4 separate regions of the Homo sapiens genome follow, and all the other regions are linked to region 2. Evidence: promoter capture Hi-C in 16 types of primary human blood cells and fetal thymus (Javierre and others, 2016). All regions are on one chromosome and are shown on one strand. The core of a region is centred on a gene start or on the middle of the fragment in contact, and the rest is flanking DNA. Distances in the headings are between cores, read along the strand shown. Region 1 holds the start of SCAMP2 (secretory carrier membrane protein 2). Region 2 holds the start of CLK3-AS1 (CLK3 antisense RNA 1). Region 3 holds the start of RPP25 (ribonuclease P/MRP subunit p25). Region 4 holds the start of COX5A (cytochrome c oxidase subunit 5A).

Region 1 (2,700 bases), core at 58-2,557, 260 kb after region 2:
AACAAAACAAAAAAAAAGGAAAAGAAAGAAAGCAGGAAGATTGTTTCTTCCTTGATTGCTGTTCAAAAGGTCAGGCCAGGCGTGGTGGCTCACACCTGTAATCCCAGCACTTTGGAAGGCCGAGGCGGATGGATCACCTGAGGTCAGGAGTTTGAGACCAGCCTGGCCAACACGGTGAAACCCCGTCTCTACTAAAAGTATGAAAATTAGCTGGGTGTGGTGGCATACGCCTGTAGTCCCAGCTACTCAGGAGGCTGAAGCAGGAGAATTGCTTGAACTCGGGAGGCAGAGGTTGCAGTGAGCGGAAATCGTGCCAATGCACTCCAGCCTGGGCGACAAAGCGAGACTCCGTCTCAAAAAAAAAAAAAAAAGTCAGGCCAGCTCACACGTCAGTGCATCTCAACTATGTTGCCACCACACACAGTTCCATCAGACAAACGTTCCCTGTGGGTCCAGAATTTTTCACAGTCCCCCGCACCTCTCCTCTCTCCCTAACCCGGGCTCTCCTATCTGGTCAAAACCCACTCCAAACTAGACCCATGGCCAAAATGTGGAATTCTTATCAAGGCCATTTTTCAACTTGGGCTACCTTCCCGCCCTCTCCCATCTTTCTTTCCCTGACAAATCTCAGGGGCTCTCCTGTACTTTATACACTAGTTTGGCTGGTGGTGGAGCGGTGGCAGGTGTCCTGGGCTTTTCCCACATTTTTCCCCTCCACCAGAGGCTTCACCACCTCCTCATATGTTGCTGTCACCCCCTCTTCTAAAGTGACTCAAGACAGGTGTCTATCCAAGAATGAGGGAATGCGATAGCCACATTTCGCTTCTCCCTGACGCTAGGAGACTTCCGGAAGGGTCCGACCGTACCTGCTCCAGTCCCCTTCCCTAGCACAGCCCAGCCTCCGGGTGCTAGAAGACCCCACTGTCTCCAACACTTCAGCGCCCCGCCTCCTCTGCAGTTCCACCTGCTGCTAGTCGCGCCCCTCACGCGTTACGATAGGCCAGACCTCAAAGCCCGCTCTCCCATTGGGCAGATGACCCGTCCCTCCTACGCCACGTCTCCCGGCTCTAGCGAGAGGCCCGGGCGGCGGCCGTGGGCCCTAGGGAAATCTGAGAGCTGGATGGCGGGAGAGGGGCTCTACCTGGAAGGGGTTTACATCCACTGGGTCCGCGAAGGGGTTGGTGTCGAAAGCCGACATGGTGATCGGGGGCCAGCGGGCGAACTCCGCGAACGCTGCTGCCTCCGGGCACCCAGACCCAGCGGCGCTTCGTGTAGACCCTCCACTTCCGGGAGCGAGGCAGCGGTTCTGGCGCAGGCGCGATGCCCTCCCCCGAGGGCGTGGCCCTATGACGGCACCGGGGTCGCTCCGCCCCCCCCCCCCCCCCCCCCGCCCAGCCCACAATAGTGCGGTGGGTGGGCATTCGGCTTCCGTCCACATCTTCGCTCTGCTGGGGATTCAGGGGTCTTGGCTGCGCGGAGCGTCTACGGAGCCAGAGGCGTGGCCGGAGTCCTTCCCAACTGCCTATCAATCTGACACCTTCCAATTTTATGTTTCTAAAGCAAACTCTCAAAAGTGGGACAGGAAACAGCCCCTTCACTTCTCTGTAGACCAAGTTTGGGAAGAAGTCCAAACTGATCCCTGGGCAAAGGACAGGGGTGACAGGTGAGGCCAGAGGCCTTGGGAGAACTAGGAAAGCGCTTCTTCTGCAGAACGTGCTCGGGGAAAGAGAAGTGCCAGGACCATCCAGCAGTCCTCCACCCGAGCTGAGCCTGCTTCTTCTAGGGCTGCTCGCCCTCTGATGTCGTTTCATCGTTTTAGGGACGAGGGTTCCTGGGCCCATCAGCTTTGGGACCTGAGTTGGGACTTGAACCTGGACATCAAACATTTATGAAGTGACTCACGGAATTCAGCAACACAGCCTCAATCATGGGGGAGGTGGCTGCTTCACTCTCCACAGCTCCGCTTTCCCCCGCCCCCGCCCCCCACAGGGTCTCACTGTCGCCCAGGCTGGAGTGCAGTGGTGCAATCATGGCTCACTGCAGCCTCGAGCTCCTGGGCTCAAGCAATCCTCCCACCTCAGCCTCCTGAGTAGCTGGGACTACAGCTGGTCACCACCATACCCAGCTAATTTATGGATTTTTTGTAGAGATGGGGATCTCACTATATTGCCCAGGCTCGTCTCAAACACCTGGGCTGAAGTGATCCTCCCGCCTTGGCTTCCTAAAATGCTAGGATTATACTCATGAACCACTGTCTGGCCAAATCCACCTTATTTATTTGGATCTGTCTGGTATTATTCATCTCTGCTGTCACCGAATCCCAGCCACTGTCATTTTTACCCTGAACTAATACAGTGCTGTTAATTGGTCTATTGTTCTTCATGTTGTAATCAAAGATATGTTTAAAGGGGGCAAAATTATCACAGAACTTTGTTAAAATTTTTCAATTAATTTCCATAAAGGGCTGGGTGCGTGGCTTATGCCTGTAATCCCAGTACTTTGGGAGGCAGAGGTAGGAGGATCACTTGAAGCCAGGAGTTCGAGACCAGCCTAGGCAACATACCAGGACCCTGGCTCTACAAAAAAAAAAAAAAAAAAAAAAAAATATATATATATATATATATATATATATATATACATATACATATCTCACACACACACGTAATTAGCTAGGCATGGTGGCCTGTGCCTGTACTCCCA
Region 2 (2,700 bases), core at 55-2,554:
GGGACCCAGTTTTGAATTAGCTTCTGTTGTTTACTTCGGATAGCCATGGTGGAGCTGGCAGAGATTTAGGGGATACTAAACACCCCTACAAATCACGCCTTGAAACCCCCCGTTTCAGGGAGAGCCGCTGGCGAAGGACTTGATGCGCAGCCGCAGCTCGGAAGCGGGGGGCTCCCCTGCGACACCTCCCCGCTTCAGGGGCGGGCCCAGACCCGCGGGGAGGGGCATGGGCGGGGCCGCGGCTGGCTGGCGGCCGCCGGGGCGGTGCTGGGGAAACCCTTGGCGCCCCCGCGGAGCGGTCCCAAGGAGGGGGCGGTGCCTGGAGGGATGGTCCGCCCCGACTGCGGGTTTCTAGCCCTCGCGTGGCGTGGGGACAATTAGGCGCCACGCCCTGTCGCTTCACTGCGCGACGCTCGCGAGGCCGGGGACGCCACTCCCAGACCGGGCGGGACGCGCACGCTCACAGTGAGGTCTCAAAAGATCCCCACCTCAGTTTTCTCATCTGGAAAGTGGGGCCTCGTAATCCTGTCCGACCCGGCGCGGGACAGTAGGTGTCAGGGATTTTGGTGACCCCACGCTCGAGGCCTCTGCAAAAGGGGGCTGTCCAGTGGCCCAGAGACGCAGCCGGCGGGGCTTTTGTCTAGCGGGGGAGTCTTAACTGAGAGGCCACGCAGGCCGGCAGGAAGCCGCTCCACAGGAGGGGGCTCAAGGAGAGGGGATCTCCTCCCTCCAGACTCCGGCCCCGCCAGAGTAGCTCTAGGGTATCTTCCCAGAAACTGCCCCGCACGCACTGGCGAGCTGGGAGCGCCACCACGGCTTTCAAAAAACCCGCACACACCAAGATAATAATGTGTCGTTCGCTCGTTTCGCGCAAGCGGAGTCGCGTCCGCCTTCCCGAGCTCCGGCACACAGACCTCAGGCCGCTCTCGCGCTCTCCGGGGCCCCGAGAACAATGCCCGTCCTCTCCGCGCGCAGGAGGGAGTTGGCGGACCACGCGGGGTCGGGGCGACGGAGCGGGCCCAGCCCCACGGCCAGGTCGGGGCCCCACCTCTCGGCTCTGAGAGCCCAGCCGGCCCGGGCCGCGCACCTGTCAGGTCGGGGGACCTACGTGCGCCGCGACACGGCGGGAGGCGGGCCGGGCCAGGCTCGTCCCCTCGGCCCTCCCGGAACTAGTCTCCTAGGCCGCGGCGCCCGCCGGAGCGGAGAGGGCTGGTGCCCCGGAGCCTTCGAGTCGGGGGCTAGAGCGGCCAGGCCTCCGAGCCGGGTCGAGCCGAGGCTGGCGACGGCTGCGTCACGCGAGGGGGCGGGGCTGCCACGGGCGGAGGTCGCAGCCGGAAGCGGAAGAGGCGCTCGGAGCGGGGAGTGGGGCCTAGCTGCAGCCGGAGCCTGGGAGACGGTAAGTGTGGGCTGGGGTCCGCGGCGGCGACAGCGGCGGCGGCGGCCGGGGGTGAGTCGGCGGGGCAGGCGCGCTGGTGCCATTCGGTCTCGGCCTACTCCCTTTCTTTCTCCTCTTCGGCCCATATCGGGCCGCGACCTCTCACCCCTGACCCGCTGCTTCTGCCCCGGAGGGCGGTCACTGCAGACCCTGACCTCGACCCCACGGTGTTGAAGGCGGAGCCTGAACGGCCTCTGGGGCCGCTCAAGGGTCCAGTTTGGGCTCTGTGCCTGCCCGCGGAATGGGGTCGGGGTCCGACGTAGAAGAGCCAGAGAAGCCCTTCAGACCCCTCCCCTACCCCTGGCTTCAGGCTTAGTCCGCAGATGACTCCTCCCTTGGCGGCCTGGAGTTTGATTCTGGCCCAGTCCGGCTTTCCCTCTGTCCCCGGGTCTCCCCTCGGCGCCACTGGTGGCGGTTACAGGGGATGGGACTCTGAGACCCCCTGGGACCTGGGGCGGCAGGAAGGGACGCGAACGAGGGCGCAGGCTCCCCTGTGTGTTTTGTTGTGGTGGTAGAGCCACTCCAGCCCGGAGGATGGGCTAGGCCAAGCTGACAGTTCAAATCCCCTGGCTGCTCCTCCGTCCCGCCCGGGAGTCTCTAGCTTTAGTTCCGGGTGTGGGTGCCCTGATGTGGAGCTGGGGTGGAAATTGCCTGAACCAGGCCCCCATCAGAGGCGGAGTTGGCGGCCTTCCAGCTTCCCTTCTTGATGCCCTTGAAAAGGAGGAGCGTTTCACCGTTGGTGGTGGAGGCTTGCGAGGTGGCAGGTTTGAGGTTGCAGTGGTAGGGCAGTCCAGCCAAAAATAACCATGGGTGCTGGGGTGGCTGGAATCCGGGAGGGCAGCCGCTGACCTGGCTGGCTGCACTTCTAGTCAGCCCAGTTCTCTGGCCAGGAACAGCAAATGAGAAGCCGACAAGGCCTGTGCTCAAAGTTGACATCCTTGGCTTGGTTTTCTTCATATCACCTTTTTCCTCATTGTGCAGAGCAGAGCTTCCCAAAGCATAATTGTGGCCTTTAGCTGCTTTTTAAACAAGCTGTTTGCTGAGGTTTTCGAGAATCAGAGATAATTGAGAAATGGGCCCTAGAGCCCTGGCTGGGAGGATGATATCTGCTATTTCCAATATTTTACTTGCCTAGAATGTGTTAAAGGAAGGATACTCTTCTCTGTTATTGCTTTGTGTGTGGTACCTTATAACTCTCATGCTTGTCATCTCTTTTGCCAGGCTGAGAGATGTTATCTCCATTTTCCAGGCATGCTAACCAAGGC
Region 3 (2,859 bases), core at 119-2,618, 340 kb after region 2:
AGGGGGAAAAGGGGTGTTAAAAGAGCTAGAACCCTCAGAGATGCTCCTCTGAAGCAGGGGAAAGAAAACTAGAAAGGAAAACTGTCCCAGGGCGGGGAGCGGAATAGGGCCCCCACATCTCAGACTCTCCTACCCTCAAGCAGTTAATTCTCACCCCCTGCCTTCCTCTGTCAACGGTGGGGGTGATTCCAATAACTCTTCTCAGCTTCCATACTTCAGGTGCTCTTCGTGAATGCTGGGTGGCTTTAACCCTTGGGGGTCCCAAACAAGTTTCCAGAATCCCACTGTCCACCATTCTCCCCCAAAGAAGGTCCCAGAAAAGGTGAAGTTCCGTGTCTTCACGCAACACGGGCATAAGCAGCAATTATCGCACGAAGTTTCCCTAGGGTGGTCGGGGATCCTCTCCTGCCACTCCTGGGGCCCCTCTCTTGTCGCCTTAAGGTCCATGCTACCTGTCTTGAGGAGCTGTGTCCAGGTTGTGGGCTCCGGAGGACCGAGGAGTGAAAGGCTGGAGGTACATCTGAAGGTGGAGGCGCTGGCGGAAGATCCTGCCGGACTAGGTGGCCCACAGTCCGGAGTTTCAGGCCGTCTGATCCTCGTCCGCAACCCCTGGCTCGGGTTGCGATCGCTTCGCGGAGCCTTCTCCAGCTGCGGGTTCCCCTAGGCTCCTCTTGGACGCTGGCGCGGCTGGCGGGGACGAGGGACCAGGATGGGGATTCGGGGGCTGGTAGCCGGGCTGTCGCGGATCCAGCGCGTCCTTGGAAAGTAGGATGGCGAGGCCGGGCACGTTCTTAAGTACGCTGAGACTAGCGGCCGGCTCGCCAGGCGTCTGACCCTGCGTGGGCCCAGGCGGGAGGCTCTGCCACACCTCGCGTACGCTCCGGTAGCGCAGCCGCGTGACCTGGTGCAGGCCCGCCAGGCGGCGCTTGAGGATCTCGGCGCACGTGACGGTTTTGGTGGTGGCCCGGCCGCAGCCGCTGAAGACGATGGCGCGCGTGGCTGGCTGCGCCATGCTGGCGGTGGCGAAGGCCATCAGGTTCCGGATCTTGCTGCCTTCCTTGACCCGCATGTGCACCGCGCCCGGCGCCAGGTCTGCGAAGGGGCCGGAGCCCGGGCCGCCTCCCTCGGCCCCGCACCCCGCTGGCGCCTCTTCGGAGCGCACCTTACGGAAGTTCTCCATGCGCCGTCGTCGCCGGGACCGCCGGCTTTGCCATGGGGCGGCCTCAGCCCCGGGGCTGCATGGCCGCCGGTCGCGCCTTGCAAGGGCCAGCAGGGGTAAGGGCGCCGGAGCAGCGCAGACGCCGGCGGGCGGGCTGGGACGGCGCGATCTCGGCCCCACTTCTCTCGAGCGGGCGCCGCTCTACTCAGCGCTCTCGGCGCCGGGTGCTCCGCGCCTTTAGCTGAGGCCCCGCCCCTGCCGCCAGGCCCCTCCCCTGACCCGGCCCGGCCGGGCCCGCCCGGGCCCCAGCCTCACTAGCCTTTCCTGGCGAGTCTGGGTCCTCAGCTACGCGGGCGTGGGAGCGGGCGCGCTGCGGGGCGCATGAGCAGGTGAAGGTGAAGTTCCACTATAATCGCCATCAGCGCTCTGAGAGCCAACCCTCACAAACCGGCAGTCTAAATAAAAGCTGCGCTTGCCGTGCAAACACTGCTTCAAATCCGGTATCCGAGCCCTTCCCATTTGCAACTGAAGGCCGCCCCTCGTCCCCTCCCAGGGAGAGATTTCCAAGAGGCTTGCTGGGGCCTTGCCCCTCCTCCCCCGCCCCGGGGAACACCCCCACCTTTTTTCCGCTCCCAAGTATTCTTGCCTCAAGGACAGCTAGTGCGCGGTCAGCAGAGTGCGGGAGGAGCTGGCTGCGGCTCCACTCCGCGCCTCCCCGCGGGCGATTACGTCGCGGCGTGGTCCTCGCGGGGCGCGGAAGACCCAGACTTCAGCCTCGCCACGCCTGCCCGGAGCTCGAGGCTCCCGGACCCCCGTCCACCCCTGGGACGTGAGGAGTGAGGCTTTGGGCCAGGCTGTTCCCCGAGGCGCGTGGGGAAGCGGGCGTGACCTCTTCTGAAAAGGCGGTAGGCTCGCTCCACCCAGGCCCTAGAGCCCACCCTTAGAGCTGCGCGCTTTAGGGTGAGCCAGGCACGATGCCTTGCCAACGTGGCCGCCCCCTTCCTCCCAGGCGGAATTCGCTCAGGCAACATTGGCCCCTTGAGATCCAGTGGGGTCCTTTTCGAAAGGAGGCTAGGTGAACGCAGGTTTTAAAAAAGAGAAGGGAGGGGCCGGGCGCGGTGTCTCACGCTTTTAATCCCAGCACTTTGGGAGGCAGAGGTGGGCGGATTACTTGACGTCAGGAGTTCGAGACCAGCCTGGTCAACATGGTGAAACCCCGTCTCCATTAAACGTACAAAAATCAGCTCGGCGTTGTGGCACGCTCCTGTAATCCTAGCTGCTCGGGAGGCTGAGGCAGGACAAGCGCTTGAACCCGGGAGCTGAAGGCTGCAGTGAGCCGAGATCATGCCACTGCACTCCAGCCGGGGCGACAGAGCAAAGCTCTGTCTCGAAAAATGAATAAATTAATTAATTAAATAAAATACAAAAGAGAAGGGAGGGATACCCCATTCTCCAGGATGTGATTATTATGCATTGCATGCCTGTATCAAAACGTCTCATGTACCCTCTAAATATAGACACCTATTGTATACCCACAAAAATTAAAAAGACTTAAAAAAAAATAAAAGAGAGAAAGAAGGGAGGAAGATGGGGAGTTGAAGCCCTGGGGGCATTATGGAACTACTGGATGCCTCTCCGGCGGAAACTCCACGGGACCGAAAGAGAGGCCCGGGGTCTCCTGCCGGGTGAGAGAAGCATTA
Region 4 (2,941 bases), core at 185-2,684, 320 kb after region 2:
TTTTTTGAGACGGAGTCTCGCTCTGTCGGCCAGGCTGGAGTGCAATGGCGCGATTTCGGCTCACTGCAACCTCCGCCTCTCAGGTTCAAGCGATTCTTGTGCTTCAGCCTCCCGAGTAGCTGGGATTACAGGCGCCCACCACCACACCCAGCTAAATTTTTTGTATTTTTAGTACAGACAGGGTTTCACCATGTTGGCCAGGCTGGTCTTGAACTCCTGACCTCAGGTGATCCGCCCGCCTCGGCCTACCAAAGTGCTGGGATTACAGGCATGAGCCACCGCGCCCGGCTGAGTTCTTTTTTTAATTTTTAACTTCAGCATACCCTGAAACGAGTTTCTGAGTTCTTATGTTTAAATACGCATGCATAGTTGCCAGTGATGCAGGTTCAAAAATAAAATATAATATGCATGCATAGAAGCTAAATTTCACGGACCAAGATCGAAGTGCAATTACTGTAATTATTCTATGGTGGTGGACTCAAAACCTCCCAGCACACATATAAAGGGAAGGAAAATAGACAAAAATCAGAAGCACGTCTCATACTCCAGCAATCAGGCTTCTATTACAAAGGGGAAAAAACACGAAGCGTTCCTATGCTTGTAAAACCCAGTATTCCTGTGTCTGTGACATTCAGTTTTCAAAAGAGTGATATTTTTATCATAAGCCCTATCAAAACTCTGGCTATCTTCCGGAGATCAGGAAACAACCACACACTTCCATCTATTTTAAACGTGGAAGAATTAGAACGTGGCACAGCAGACCCTAAAAATGATGGAAAAGGCTGTGAAGGTGACACACTAATCGCTAACCGAGAAATGCCTGATTGAAAAGTATAATCGTGTGTCCCATACGGAAGTATATTGTGTCCTCGGACCCCAAGCGGCGTGCCCGGAGGCTCAATGTCACCTTCGCCGAGGCGCTGCAGGCCGGCGGCGGCCACTCTCGGTCAGGTGGCCGCAGGGTCGGCGCTGGGGCAGGGTCATGGCCCGGGAACCGAAGGGGAGCGCTGCGTCCCCTCCTCGGCGCCCACAGCAGGTCCACATCTGACCTGTCCGCGGTGGCACAGCCAGGAAGTTGCGCGGGGGGAGGCCCCGGGGGCGCGCTTTCAGGTCCTCCACTACTCGAGGCGGCGGGCAGGGCGGCCCGCGGTCACCGGGTTCAGTAACCAGGGTAGGGCAAGGGCTAGGCCGGGGAGAGCCCGCCCCGGAGTGGCAGCGGGGACCCAGGTCACCGCAAGGACACGAGGGCGCGGGCAGTGGCAAGCAGGGGCCTTACCCACGGCGGGGCCGGGGGTCCGGGCGGAGTGCAGGAGGCCTCGAGGGTCGGCCCGGGTGGTTGCGGCCACAGCGCAGCGGCGGAGAGCGGCGCCCAGCATGACGGCGATGGCGGCGCGCGGGCTGAGGACAGAGAGAAGCCGGTGTAAGCTCGCGGGTTGCTCCGGAGCGGGCGGGGGCCGGACAGGCTCACAGCGGGCGGAGCACGTAGGCCCGCCCACTGCGACTCTGGCGCGTGGGCGGGAGGAGCCACCGCGCGGCCGGCGGCGGCGGGGGCTACGGCGGCGCGCTGAGGACAAACTGTTAGCCTCGCGTCCCGCCTTGTCTCTGGTCAGGTGACGTGCAGCTGCCATCCTGTAAGTAGGAATGGAGGCGAGGGAGGAGCAACCGACCGTGATCTTGTTCGAGTCAGGCCCAGGAGGGCACTTAATCACCTCAAAATAGGAATGACAGCAATAACAACAAACTATAATAAAAAATACGTACTTTGCGCCCGGGCGCTGTGGCTCATGCCTGTAATCCCAGCACTTTTGGGAGGCCGAGGCGGGCGGATCACCTGCGGTCGGGAGTTCAAGACCAGCCTGGGCAACATGGAGGAACCCCCGTCTCTACTAAAAATACAAAATTAGCCAGGCGTGGTGGCGCAACGCATGCCCGCAATCCCAGCTACTCGGGAGGCTGAGGCAGGAGAATCGCTTGAACCCAGGAGGAGGAGGTTGCGGTGAGCCGAGATGGTGCCATTGCACTCCAGCCTGGGCAACAAGAGCGAAACTCCGTCTCAAAAAAACCAAACAAAACAAAAACCTACTTTGCTTAGCCCCGCCTTCTCATTGTGGCATAAAATAAAACAGCGAATGGGGGAAAGAATGCCGCTGGACGCGGTTGCTCACGCCTGTAATCCTAGCACTTTGGGAGCCCAAGGCGGGCGGATCACCTGAGGTCGGGAGTTCGAGACCAGCCTGACCAACATGGAGAAACCCCTGTCTCTACTAAAAATGCAAAATTAGCCAGGTGTGGTGGCGCATGCCTGTAATCCCAGCTATTTGGGAGGCTGAGGCAGGAGAATTGCTGGAACCCAGGAGGCAGAGGTTGCAGTGAGTTGAGATCGCACCATTGCACTCCAGCCTGGGCAACAAGATCAAAACTCCATCTCAAAAAAAAAAAAGGCCTATGCGTAAGGGATTTTATTAGTACATATTCTTATATCACAAACCAGCTTGCATAAAAAATGAGTTAAACTACTTCATTTCACAGATTAGGAAAGAGGCTCAGAAATTAGGTTGCTGCTGGCAGTCAAGGATCTTTTCGCCACATCCCCAGTTCTGAGGACTCTCACCTGAATGTTTCCCATCTCCTACAGGAGGGCTCCTGAATCCACGATGGCTCTGAAATAGGGTTGATCAAGTTCCACAGTTGTTGCATCTTATCTCACTAGCTACATCCTAACTTTGAGCCCCTGGGCAGTCAAGGACACCTCTCCCAGGCCTGAAGTATCTGGATGCTGCCCAGAGTTAATGAGACATTGTATTCTGTCTTGCTGTCTCCCATTCTCTATCCCTGGGCACACTGAGGAAAGAAAAGGTGGCCATTCATGTGCCACTTCCTCACTTCAGGCCGACTCTCCAGGGCCTCAGCATCTGCCCTTCTCTTTTTCCTCCCTAGCAGT

Evidence for each region. Contacts are between HindIII fragments. The CHiCAGO score rates a contact against its expected background, and 5 or more counts as called.
Region 1: the fragment with the promoter of SCAMP2 here is called in contact with a fragment that was not itself captured in region 2 in 13 of 17 cell types (naive CD4 T cells, naive CD8 T cells, non-activated CD4 T cells and 10 more); the score reaches 10.6 in naive CD4 T cells.
Region 3: the fragment with the promoter of RPP25 here is called in contact with a fragment that was not itself captured in region 2 in 9 of 17 cell types (naive B cells, total CD8 T cells, naive CD4 T cells and 6 more); the score reaches 8.4 in naive B cells.
Region 4: the fragment with the promoter of COX5A here is called in contact with a fragment that was not itself captured in region 2 in 12 of 17 cell types (non-activated CD4 T cells, naive CD8 T cells, total CD4 T cells and 9 more); the score reaches 13.7 in non-activated CD4 T cells.

Annotation. Positions count from the first base shown.
Region 1 is chr15:74,872,058-74,874,757 of GRCh38, forward strand. SCAMP2 (secretory carrier membrane protein 2) reads right to left here and starts at 1,308. Exons shown (of 9, transcript NM_005697.5): 1 at 1,142-1,308. The coding sequence starts at 1,198. The HindIII fragment of the contact is 8,993 bases long and covers 1-2,700 here.
Region 2 is chr15:74,614,503-74,617,202 of GRCh38, forward strand. It overlaps CLK3-AS1 (CLK3 antisense RNA 1), which reads right to left and starts at 1,290. Exons shown (of 9, transcript XR_007064715.1): 1 at 1-1,290. CLK3 (CDC like kinase 3) reads left to right here and starts at 1,334. Exons shown (of 13, transcript NM_001130028.2): 1 at 1,334-1,396. RefSeq lists silencers at 109-428, 849-1,388 and enhancers at 1,477-2,088, 2,089-2,699. The HindIII fragment of the contact is 4,168 bases long and covers 1-2,700 here.
Region 3 is chr15:74,955,404-74,958,262 of GRCh38, forward strand. It overlaps RPP25 (ribonuclease P/MRP subunit p25), which reads right to left and starts at 1,369. Exons shown (of 1, transcript NM_017793.3): 1 at 1-1,369. The coding sequence starts at 1,180. The coding sequence ends at 581. RefSeq lists enhancers at 1-118, 119-1,052, 1,053-1,986 and a silencer at 1,012-1,661. The HindIII fragment of the contact is 5,452 bases long and covers 1-2,859 here.
Region 4 is chr15:74,936,639-74,939,579 of GRCh38, forward strand. COX5A (cytochrome c oxidase subunit 5A) reads right to left here and starts at 1,435. Exons shown (of 5, transcript NM_004255.4): 1 at 1,277-1,435. The coding sequence starts at 1,376. RefSeq lists a silencer at 1,129-1,688. The HindIII fragment of the contact is 6,406 bases long and covers 1-2,941 here.